Linked DNA regions of Homo sapiens: region 2 is linked to region 1. The links are contacts of gene promoters, found by promoter capture Hi-C in blood cells and fetal thymus (Javierre and others, 2016). All regions are on one chromosome and are shown on one strand. The core of a region is centred on a gene start or on the middle of the fragment in contact, and the rest is flanking DNA. Distances in the headings are between cores, read along the strand shown. Region 1 holds the start of HERC6 (HECT and RLD domain containing E3 ubiquitin protein ligase family member 6). Region 2 overlaps PPM1K (protein phosphatase, Mg2+/Mn2+ dependent 1K).

Region 1 (5,912 bases), core at 2,962-5,461:
AAAGTTAATTAAAGACAATATAAGATGTGAAACTACTAGAAGAAAACATTGGGGAAATGCTTTGGGACATTGCTCTGGGCAAAAAATTTTGTGGAAGATCTCAAAAACACAGGAAACAAAAGCAAAAATAGACCAGTGAGATTACATTAAGCGAAAAAGCTTCTCCACAGCAAAGGAAACTCAACAAAGTGAAGAGACAACCCACAGAATGGGAGAAAAATATTTGTAAACTATCTGTCTGACAAGGGATTAATAACCATATTATTATAAGAAGCTCAGATAACTGAACAGCAAAAAAAAAAATCTGATTTTAAAAGGGCAAATGATCTGAATGGACATTTCTCAAAAGCAGACATACAAATGGCCAACAAGTATAAGAAAAAATGCTCAACATCACTAATCTTCATAGAAATGCAAATCAAAACCATGAGATATCATCTCACCACAGCTAGAATGGCTTTTACCAAAAGATAGGGAATAAGGAATGCAGGTGAGGATGTAAAGAAACGTACACTGTTGATGTACATTTCATACATTGTTGGTGGGAATGTAAATTAGTACAGCCACTATGGAGAACAGTATGGAGGTTCCTCAAAAAACTAAAAATAGAAATACCATATGATTCAGCAATTTCACTACTCTGTGTATATACAAAAGAAAGGAAATCAATATATCAAAGAGACATCTGCACTCCCACATTTACTGCAGTACTATTCACAATAGCCCAAATTTGGAATCAGGCTAAGTGCCCATCAATAGATGAATGGATAAAGAAAATGTGGTACATATACATAATGAAATATTGTTCAGCCATAAAAAAAGAATGGAATTCTGTCATTTCTGCAGCAACATGGGTGGAATGGTCATTATGTTAATGAAATAAGCCAAGCACAGAAAGACAATTATCACGTGTTTTCACTCATATGTCAGAGAGTAAAAAAAAAAAAAGTGAATCTCATGAAGATAAGGAGTACATTGTTGGTAACCAGAGTCCAGGAAGAGTAGGGGTAGGGGTGAGGAAAATGAAGAGAGGTTGATTAATGGGTACAAATATACAGTTGGATAGAAGAAATAAGACCTGGTTCAATAGCTCAGTAGAATGACTATAGGTACATTTCAAAACCACTAGCCAATAATAATTTGAATGTTCCTTTTTTTTTTTTTTTTTTTTTTGAGATAGGGTCTGGCTCTGTCGCCCAGGCTGGAGTGCAGTGGCACGATCTGGGCTCACTGCACCTTCCACCTCCCAGGCTCCGGGCTCAAGCAATCCTCCCACCTCAGCCTCCCACGTAGCTGGGACTACAGGTATGTGCCACTGCACCCAGCTATTTTTTGTAAAGATGGGGTTTCACCATGTTGCCCAGGCTGGTCTCCAACTCCTGAGCTCAAGCGATCCTCCCATCTCGGCCTCCTAAAGTGCTAGGATTATAGGCATGAGCCACTGTGCCTAGCCCAAGATAAATTATTTAAGGCGATAGATATCCCAATTTGATAATGTGTCAAATTATCATATGTACCCCCAAAACATGTGCATCTATTATGTATCAATAAAAGATTTTTTAGGCCAAGAGTGGTGGCTCACGCCTGTAATCCCAGCACTTTGGGAGGCTGAGGCAGGCGGATCACTTGAGGTTAGAAGTTCGAGATCAGCCTGGCCAACATGGTGAAACCCTATCTCTACGAAAAATACAAAAATTAGCCAGGTGTGATAGTGCCCGCCTGTAATCTGAGCTGTTCAGGAGGCTGAGGCAGGAGAATCGCTTGAATCGGGGAGGTGGAGGTTGCAGTGAGCTGAGATCGTGCCACTACACTCCAGCCTGGGTGGCAAAGCGAGACTCTGTCTCAAAAAAAAATTTTTTTTTAAAGAAATAACTTAATTTGAGGGCTCAGTATCTTATGGTAATAATACCAAACTCCTACATTTTGTGCTTGAGAAAAGAAATAAACATTAAGAAATTACTATTCAGAAAAAGGTTATATTTGGTATACAGCAAAACAGAACCAGAAATACTAATACTATCCACTGACTCACTACTCATCAATCCAATTGTCCGACATACCCTTATTAGCATCTACCAAGTTCCAGGTACTCTTGAGGTAGAAAAATAAAGAACATTTGTTCTTCTCTTTAAAGAACTTGAAACATGGTCATGAAGAGTGGTGAATTGAAATTACATAAATAGGTTCTGTAATAGTTTCTTTTAAAAAAAAATCAATAATGCTGATGATGGCTAACATTATCAAAGTTACCAAATCTAAAAACCAGTGCTCAGCGGGACATGGTGGCCTATAATCACAGCACTTTGGAAGGCTGAGGTAGGCAGATCATCTGAGGTCAGGAGTTCAAGACCAGCCTGGGCAACATGATGAAACCCCATCTCTTCAAAAAATACAAAAGTTAGCTGGGCGTAGTGGCACGTGCCTGTAGTCCCGCTACTTGGGAGGCTAAGGCGGGAGGATTGCTTGAACCTGGGAGGCGGAGGTTGCTGTGAGTTGAGATCACGCCATTGCACTCCAGCCTGGGCATCAAGAGCGGAAACTCTATCTCAAACAAACAAACAAATAAATAAATAAAAATCAGTGCTCAATCCTTACCTTGCTCCACAAGAAATTGACAGAGTTGATCCTTCCTTTATTCGTTACTTGCTCTGTCTATAACTCCTCCTCCTGGTTTTCCTCCTATGATCAGTCCTCTAGCCTCTGCTATACTGTCACCACATTCACCCCCTGGGTGTTCTCATTCAGCCATCTGGCTTTAAGCATCACCTCTACACTGATGGCTCCCAATTTTCTGACTACACCCAAGCTTCTCTCTACAACTCCAAAACAGTTTATCCTATTGCCTTCTTGATTAACAAGCATCTTACAGTTATCATTACCAATCTGTATTCCAGACACACATAGCTTAAACCTGCACCTTCCTCAGGGTTTCCCAGTCCAGTAGAGTTTACCTTGGAGTAACCCCTAAAGCCAACCCTGGAGTAATCCCTAATCCCTTTTCTTCTTTCCCCCCAATTTCTAATCCATCATCAAATCTGTGGACTCTTACTTTCAAAACATGTCTTGAATCTAATAACTTCTCCTCTCTTCCCTTCTAGGATATCACCTGACCTGAACTCTGAAGTAGTCTCTGCTAACTGGCTTTCTGCTTCCATTTTTGTCCTATTATTTTTCACACAGCAGCCAGATGAATCTTTAAAAACTGAAGTCAGATCATGGCTCTTCTCTATTCAAAACCTTCCAACTGCTTCTTTTCATCCTCTGCCCTCAGGTGTGATCACGACTCATTCCCTCATTTCCCATGTCCCCTCAGCTCTCTGCACAAATATCACTTCATCAGAGAGATCTTCCCTAATATCATCTCAAATACCAGTGCCTTCCGCCTCCACCCTCTGGTTCCTGTTGTATTTTTCGTTGCCCCTTGATATTACACTATGTGTTTATCTGTTTATGTTCTCTTTCCCTCAGGAGAATGTAAACGCATCAAGAGGATCTTGTCTTTCACTAATTGTATTTTCAGGCGGGGCCCAGAGGCTCACGCCTGTAATCCCTGCACTTTGGAAAGCTGAGGGGTGGATCACTTGAGGTCAGGAGTTCGAGACCAGCCTGGCCAACATGGTGAAACCCCATCTTTACTAAAAATACAAAAATTAAGTCGGGCGTCGTGGCGCATGCCTGTAATCCCACCTACTCGGGAGGCCGAGGCAAGAGAATCAGCTTGAACCCGTGAGGTGGAGGTTGCAGTGAGCCGAGATGGTGCCACTGCACTCCAGCCTGAGCAGCAGAGCGACACTCCATCTCAAACAAACAAACAAACAAACAAACAAAAAACAAACATATTTTCAATGCCAAAAAAGGTCTGGAATGAGGTGGGCACTCAGATGCTTTATTAACCACTCTAGGTATTATTCTAACACTTTATGTGCCTATTAAATTATCCCGACATATTAGATTTGCTGAATTGCAGTCCATATTTCGTAGATATGATAGCTGAAGCACGGAATCATTAGGTAACTTGCCCAAAGTGGCATTCACGACTCATAAATGGCTTAGGATGTAAACTCAGTTTTATTCCCTGGGACGCCCTCTCTGCTCTTCAGCACTTGAAGTTCAGGCAGCGAGAGTTGACATGGGGCCAGGGCTGCGCCCCTGGGGCGGGTTGAAGACAGGGTGAGTCTCTTGATATTCAGGAAATCATCGCGCACCCAGTCACCAGCGTTCGGGAGCCTGTCGCAGCGGGACCGACGGAATCCGGAGCAGGCGACAGGGCGCAGAAGCGGGATGTACTTCTGTTGGGGCGCCGACTCCAGGGAGCTGCAGCGCCGGAGGACGGCGGGCAGCCCCGGGGCTGAGCTACTGCAGGCGGCCAGCGGGGAGCGCCACTCTCTGCTGCTGCTGACCAACCACAGGGTCCTCTCGTGCGGAGACAACAGCAGGGGTCAGCTGGGCCGCAGGGGCGCGCAGCGCGGGGAGCTGCCAGGTGAGCGGGGGGCCCCAGGTGCAGGGTGTGAGGACCCCAGTACATGGGCGCGGGGGCTTGGGTACCGGGCGCAGGGAACCGGGTGCGGAGCGCTGGGACCCGGGTGAGGGGCGCGGGGGCCCAGGTGCAGGGAGCGGCTCAGATGCTGGGCGCCGCGGGCCAGGCAGGGAGGGGTGCTGGGAGCCTTGGATTCCTCGGGGCCCGAAGAGCCACAGGAACCAGGAAAATGGTGCCCTGTGCTACCGAAGAGCAACTTCCTCAGTTTCGTTTTCCCAACGCCCCTCGGATTTGTTTCGGTTTCCAATTCAAGTTCAAAGCGAAACTGAGAGCCGAAACTAACCTGGTCAGCGCTGCTCTGGAAAGAGATGTGGTCCCTCCGGCTTGCCTTGCAGATAAATCCTCGCCTGCGCGGTTCTACCTGGAGAAGGCAGCCTGACCTTACAAACGTGGTTTGTGGGTCAGACACCTGTATCTCCCTTAGAAATACACTGGGGCATTAAAAAATATATATATATAAAAATATATATATAAAATATATAAATATATATAATATATAAATATATACAAATATATAATATATAAATATATAATATATAAATATATATAATATATAAATATATAAATATATAACATATAAATATATATAATATATAAATATATATATAACATATAAATATATATAATATATAAATATATATATAACATATAAATATATATAATATATAAATATATATATAGCATATAAATATATATAATATATAAATATATATATAATATATAAATATATATAATATATAAATATATATAATATATAAATATATATATAATATATAAATATATATAATATATAAATATATATAATATATAAATATATATATAATATATAAATATATATAATATATAAATATATATAATATATAAATATATATATAATATATAAATATATATAATATATAAATATATATAATATATAAATATATATATAATATATAAATATATATAATATATAAATATATATAATATATAAATATATATAATATATAAATATATATATAATATATAAATATATATATAATATAAATATATATATAATATATAAATATATAATATATAAATATATATAATATATAAATATATAATATATAAATATATATAATATATAAATATATAATATATAAATATATATATAATATATAAATATATATATAATATATAAATATATATATAATATAAATATATATATAATATATAAATATATATATATAATATATAAATATATATATATAATATATAAATATATATATATACACATAATAGGCCGGACGCGGTGGCTTACGCCTGTGATCCCAGCACTTTGGGAGGCCGAGGCGGGCGGAGCACGAGGTCAGGAAATCGAGACCACCCTGGCCAATATGATGAAACCCCATCTCTA
Region 2 (5,244 bases), core at 1-2,500, 100 kb before region 1:
GGAATGTGATAGTTTTACATACCATCAGCAGACAGGCGGGCATGACTCGAAAAGGCTTTATCTATTTCTAGAAAAGCCAAGGTCAACAGAGTTTCCAAGTTCTTCTCCTTAGGAAGCAAATCCCTTTGTGGGGAGGAAAAAAAGAGCCTTAAACAATCATTTTACAATAGGTTTTTCTCCTCACTGTTACTCTAGCTAGCAGTCATTCCACACAACGGGCCTCAGGATTTTCCTGTCAAATGCTGAAGACCTACTGGCTAAGGAATACCTATTGAGAATCCACAAAGTATCAGGCACTGTGATAAGCTTTTAAGGGCACAACAATGAAAGTCCAAGTCCTTGTCCTTGAAGAATTGATCCTCACTACCACAACCCTGAGAGGTCGAGAGTTCCTTCCCATTGTGAGTTCTTTCGTGGAATGCGGTATACACAGGAAGTCAAGAAATGGTCACTGGGAAGTCAAAAATAGTCACATGGTCGTAACTCCATCACATGTTCTCCCTCTTTCAATTTTAGCAGTAATGTGATCCTCAAAAATGCATTAATACTAGTTGAAGTAAATAAACGGAAGAGCTCCAAAATGCCTGCATTAAATGCATTTTTCCACACTAATGCCAATCATCCAAAGCTATTTTCAACAAGTCAGGTATTCAAAGCTATTCACACCACTTGAAAGAGTAATTACCATTTACTGAAGCACTTATCTGTCCTACACTGATGGGAGTAAATGCTTCTCATAGGTTATCTCATGTACATTATGCCACTTCACTTAAAATGATCACAAATTAAGTGCTATAGATTTTGGTTAATGCTTTCCCCAGGGGAGTTGTTAAAACATGCATTTCTGAAATTGTGATAACCATAAGTAATAAATGGCACACTTAAACTACTGCTCATTCGTGAAGCAGCAGCATGCAACCACTCAAGTAACTATGTTTACGCTGGAAGCCTCAGCCAAAGGGTGAAAGTTTAAGTAGGAAGTATAGGAACTGCAAAGTCAGGAGTGAAAGTCATTGTACATACATAATACATTTCTCCATGTGGGTATGACAGAAATCAGCTGCTGCAGGTCCACCGTGTCCATCATACACTGCAAAGTACAGGACCTCATCTGTCAGCTGAGCGAAGTCAAACCGATCTTCATTCTCTTTCCGTTTGCCAATCTGTGAGGCGCACCCCACATTTTCCAAGCTGATTTTGGGAATTGGCTTGCCATACTTAATGCTGGGTGGCAGCAGAATTGGCTCATCAATGCGGTTATCCCAGATCCCAAAATTGTCCCAGGTAGCTGGACTCCCACTACCATCTGGGTCAAACCGAGAACACCTAGGCTCTGAAGTGGAGCTGTGGCACGTGGGTGTCACCCGCCTGTCGTCCTGCAGCAGGCGGGAGCTTAGCAGCACTCTCCTTCTCACCTGGTTCCCACCACTTCTGACCAAAGTAATTAAGGCAGCTGTTGACATAACTCAGCTCCAAAGGACTCAGTGATGAGGGAAAGGTCAATGGAACAATAATGGAATGTCTTCAAGAAAAATGATGCAAGTCACAGGGGACAGAGGGAGAGAGGGGCAGAGGAGGAGAGGGAGAGAGACAGAGAGAGAGAGACCATCAGAAATTTTGAATATAACTGATATGTCATCAAATATTACCAAAAATGAAGCTCATAAAGGATTTGACAGAAAATACATATATTTATGTTATATATTGGGTAGGCATCCAGTAGCCTGCTTCTAAGAACAGTGGATCAAAAATGAATCGATTTTCCTACCGCATTCACAGCATTTAAATTCTATAAAAATTTAACAGTGTGCACATACACAGAACATGTATCTCTTAAACTTGAACCTGCAATCACTTGTTAAAATGCATGTTCTGACCCAGTGGCTATGGGGTGGAGTCACTCTGCATTTCTAACCAACACCCTGGTGATACAGAAGCTGCTGGTCCCCAAGTTACACTTCTAGTAGCAAGAACACAGAATACAGGTATAAATAAATATACTTCCCTTCATTAACTCTATTGCTTTAAAGAAAAGGTAGGGATAAATATTAACAATAGCAACAAAGTCTCTTCAGGAAAAAATAACAGGCTAATAGAATACTTAAAATAGTTCTGTTTCCAAAGAATGGCCAAGTTTTAACAAAAACATAATCTAGGATAAATCTAAGTTTTATTTTAACATTTCTTAACCTACTAAGCTTTACATACTATATTACTATGGTAAATATAAATTGGTGTGCAAACACCCCAGAGGCACAAAGATAAGCCAGTTTTGATGCTCCCCATCCTAGCAGACTCTCTCACTAGGAGGGTATGTGGGTATGATCTCAGGAACCTGGCAGCACTGCATTTGTGACAAGCAGCCCTGATTTCTGAACGAGTGATCTATATATTTACATTCACAGCTGCAGCTCTCCTTTCCCCAACCCTAACAACCCAACGACACTTGAGACTACACTTCTTTGAAACGATTACTTTACACCCCCATTTCTGGACTCCACCCTGAAACTCAATCCTAAAACCTCTCTTGGCATTACAGGGTGTTACCCAGGGGAACTCCTACCCCACTGCAGGTAGAGCTGTTTCTGGGAATTTTCCACACAAATAAAAAATTTGTCTCCATAGGATTTTGTTCTATTACTTTATTCTTTTAAAATCAACTTGAAAAGATGGCAGAATACTAAGGTTTGATGATGTTGGTGGATGGTCTACAGATAGTATATTATTCTCAATCTTATGTTTAAATTATTTCACAATAAAAAATGAACTTGAAAAAATGTATCTTTCCAAAAGGTATAAACATACACAAATGAAACCCAGCTTGAGTGCAGTTATGAGAAAATGCACTACAGATTTCAAACAATTACTTTCCAATGAATTTTTGGAAATCAGTCTAGCTATGTATAGGGAAGGCCATTACTTCTTTCGGTGGGTAAAACAGTCAAAAGAAAGAATGAGGTTCCAAAGAACATCCTTAGGTGTTTATTTGTTTTAATTTCTTGTAGATATGGGTTCTCACTTTGTTGCCCAGTCTGCTCTTGAACTCCTGGCTTCAAGTGATCCTCCCACCTCAGCCTCCCAAAGTATTGGAATTACAGGCATGCGCCACAGAGACTGGCCTCAATCTTTAGATATTTAAGCAATTAAAAAAAATATGAGCTCTGCTGTCACAGAATTTAGAATAAAGATGGCCACCAAAACAAGTAATGTATCATCAAAGACTTAGGAAGTCATCCCTTCTTGGCCTTTTGGCCAAGATCCTGCATAGAAGGCTGAAATTCATTTCTTCGTAAGACAACATTGTTGGGGGGTTGGAGAGTGGCAGAGACACAGCATCTCTGGTTATCAAAGAGAATTAACATGGCCGGACCCGGTGGCTCACACTTGTAATCCCAGCACTTTGAGAGGCCGAGGTAGGCAAATCACTTGAGGCCAAGAGTTGGAGACCAGTGGGCAACTTTGCAAAACCCTGTCTCCACTAAAAATACAAAAATTAGTCAGGCGTGGTTCCGCATGCCTGTAGTTCCAGCTACTAAGGGGGCTGAGGTGGGAGGACTGCTTGAGCCCAGGAGTTTGAGACTACCCTGGGCAACATGGTGAAACCCTGTCTCTACAAAAAGTACAAAAATGAGGTGGACAGATTGCTTGAGCCTGGGAGGCAGAGGCTGCAGTGAGCTAAGATCACACCACTGCACTCCAGCCTGAGCAATGGAGCAAGACATTGTCTATTTAAAAAAAGAGAGAGAGAGCGAGAGAGAGAAATAACACATTCCATTGCAAGAGATGTTTGTTCTTTTGCTTCTAATTGAGAGTTAGATTTTATTCAGCAACAATTATGGATTCAAGCCAGCAATGGTGTGTTAAAAAAAATTTAAAAACCCAATTATGTTAATTATAGGTGATGAATTGAGACTTCAAACTACAATACAATCTACCAGGTAATGGAAGTACTAATTATTTGGAGATAATTCCCAAAGCAGCTTTATATCATATAGAAAAAAAAAAGAACTTTAAAGAAATACAATTATTAGAAAATATTTGTATTTGAAGAGTTAACTTGAGATTAGCAAAATACTATTCTTTTGGCTTCGGTCTGAAAGTATATATGCCATATTCAGCCTTGAGCTACTTTGCAGTCATGCACCTACTTTAAATCAGAGTTCTGGAATTACAAATAAATAAATATTGAAGTTTTTCTGCAACTGTTCTAGTATATTCTTGCCGTTTTATCTCCTCTTTATCCTCCCCCCAATTTTTTTTTAAATAATAAAATAGAACTGCATTCTCACAGAGAACAAATATCCACTGGAAACATTTTTAAGAAATGAGATAAAATGCAAATTGAGCAGTTTCTGTAAGGCTAAAAACCTGCGTATTTTAAAATCAATCATCAACCTGGCATCCTTCCTCGTGTATTGTTTCTATAATCATCTCAGAAAGCAGGCAGTCATAGGAAACCACCTACTTTAAGGCATATTATTGGCAGAGATGAAATGTGACCCAGATATATAGCTAGTTTATAAAAAACAAACAAACAGGTCGGCATCGCTTAGGTAAACGAGATGTTACGAACTGGCTCCATGTCCTTTTCCATCTGCAATGTAACTAAATCATATCAATCCCCTCCATATTCCCTAAGAAACAATTCAAAGGCAGCTGGAGTTCCCAAAGTAAATAACAACTTTGAATTAAACCTGCACATTAAGAAAAGTTTCCTCCTCCAGAACTCCACAATTGGGATCTGCCATCATAGACCCCACAGCTCTGCCGATGCCCATGGGAATGACTATGCTTTGACCAGCAAGGCAAGGGGAGTAGAACTTGTGATGTGAAAAACAAAAACCTTAAGGAAAAAAAAAAAGCAATCAGTGTTCTCTAAACAAAAAGAGTGGAGAACAAACTAGCAAACACCTAAGGATTGTCTTTTGTCAGTTCAGCAATTAAAAATTGGGATGAGTTCATTATTCCACAAACTAAGAGAGAGAAGGAATCTTTTTAAGTAAGCAGGGGAGATTTAGGTCAATTTTTTGATCGGAAAACATGGCTAGTTTATTTTTATAAACCATTTTAACATTATATTCAATCTTTGGAAGTCAAGTCATCCAAAAGGAAAGCACTTTCTCTGGCAGGAAGGTGCACTGGATTTGAGTTAAACTGTTCTTGTATGTTAAAAGCAGGTCAAAAGGGCAGTTTAAGCACATGCCAAAATTATTCAGGAGTTCTAAAGTTCTGAAACCTGCTTAG

Evidence for each region. Contacts are between HindIII fragments. The CHiCAGO score rates a contact against its expected background, and 5 or more counts as called.
Region 2: a fragment that was not itself captured here is called in contact with the fragment with the promoter of HERC6 in region 1 in 2 of 17 cell types (naive B cells and total CD8 T cells); the score reaches 5.8 in naive B cells.

What each region holds. Positions count from the first base shown.
Region 1 is chr4:88,374,641-88,380,552 of GRCh38, forward strand. HERC6 (HECT and RLD domain containing E3 ubiquitin protein ligase family member 6) reads left to right here and starts at 4,212. Exons shown (of 23, transcript NM_017912.4): 1 at 4,212-4,480. The coding sequence starts at 4,282. RefSeq lists a silencer at 4,435-4,624 and an enhancer at 4,635-4,964. The HindIII fragment of the contact is 10,681 bases long and covers 2,805-5,912 here.
Region 2 is chr4:88,277,121-88,282,364 of GRCh38, forward strand. PPM1K (protein phosphatase, Mg2+/Mn2+ dependent 1K) reads right to left here. Exons shown (of 7, transcript NM_152542.5): 2 at 1,024-1,522; 3 at 23-123. The coding sequence starts at 1,463. Among named protein-coding and RNA genes, the nearest start is that of PPM1K, 4.8 kb to the right of the region's middle. The HindIII fragment of the contact is 1,892 bases long and covers 305-2,196 here.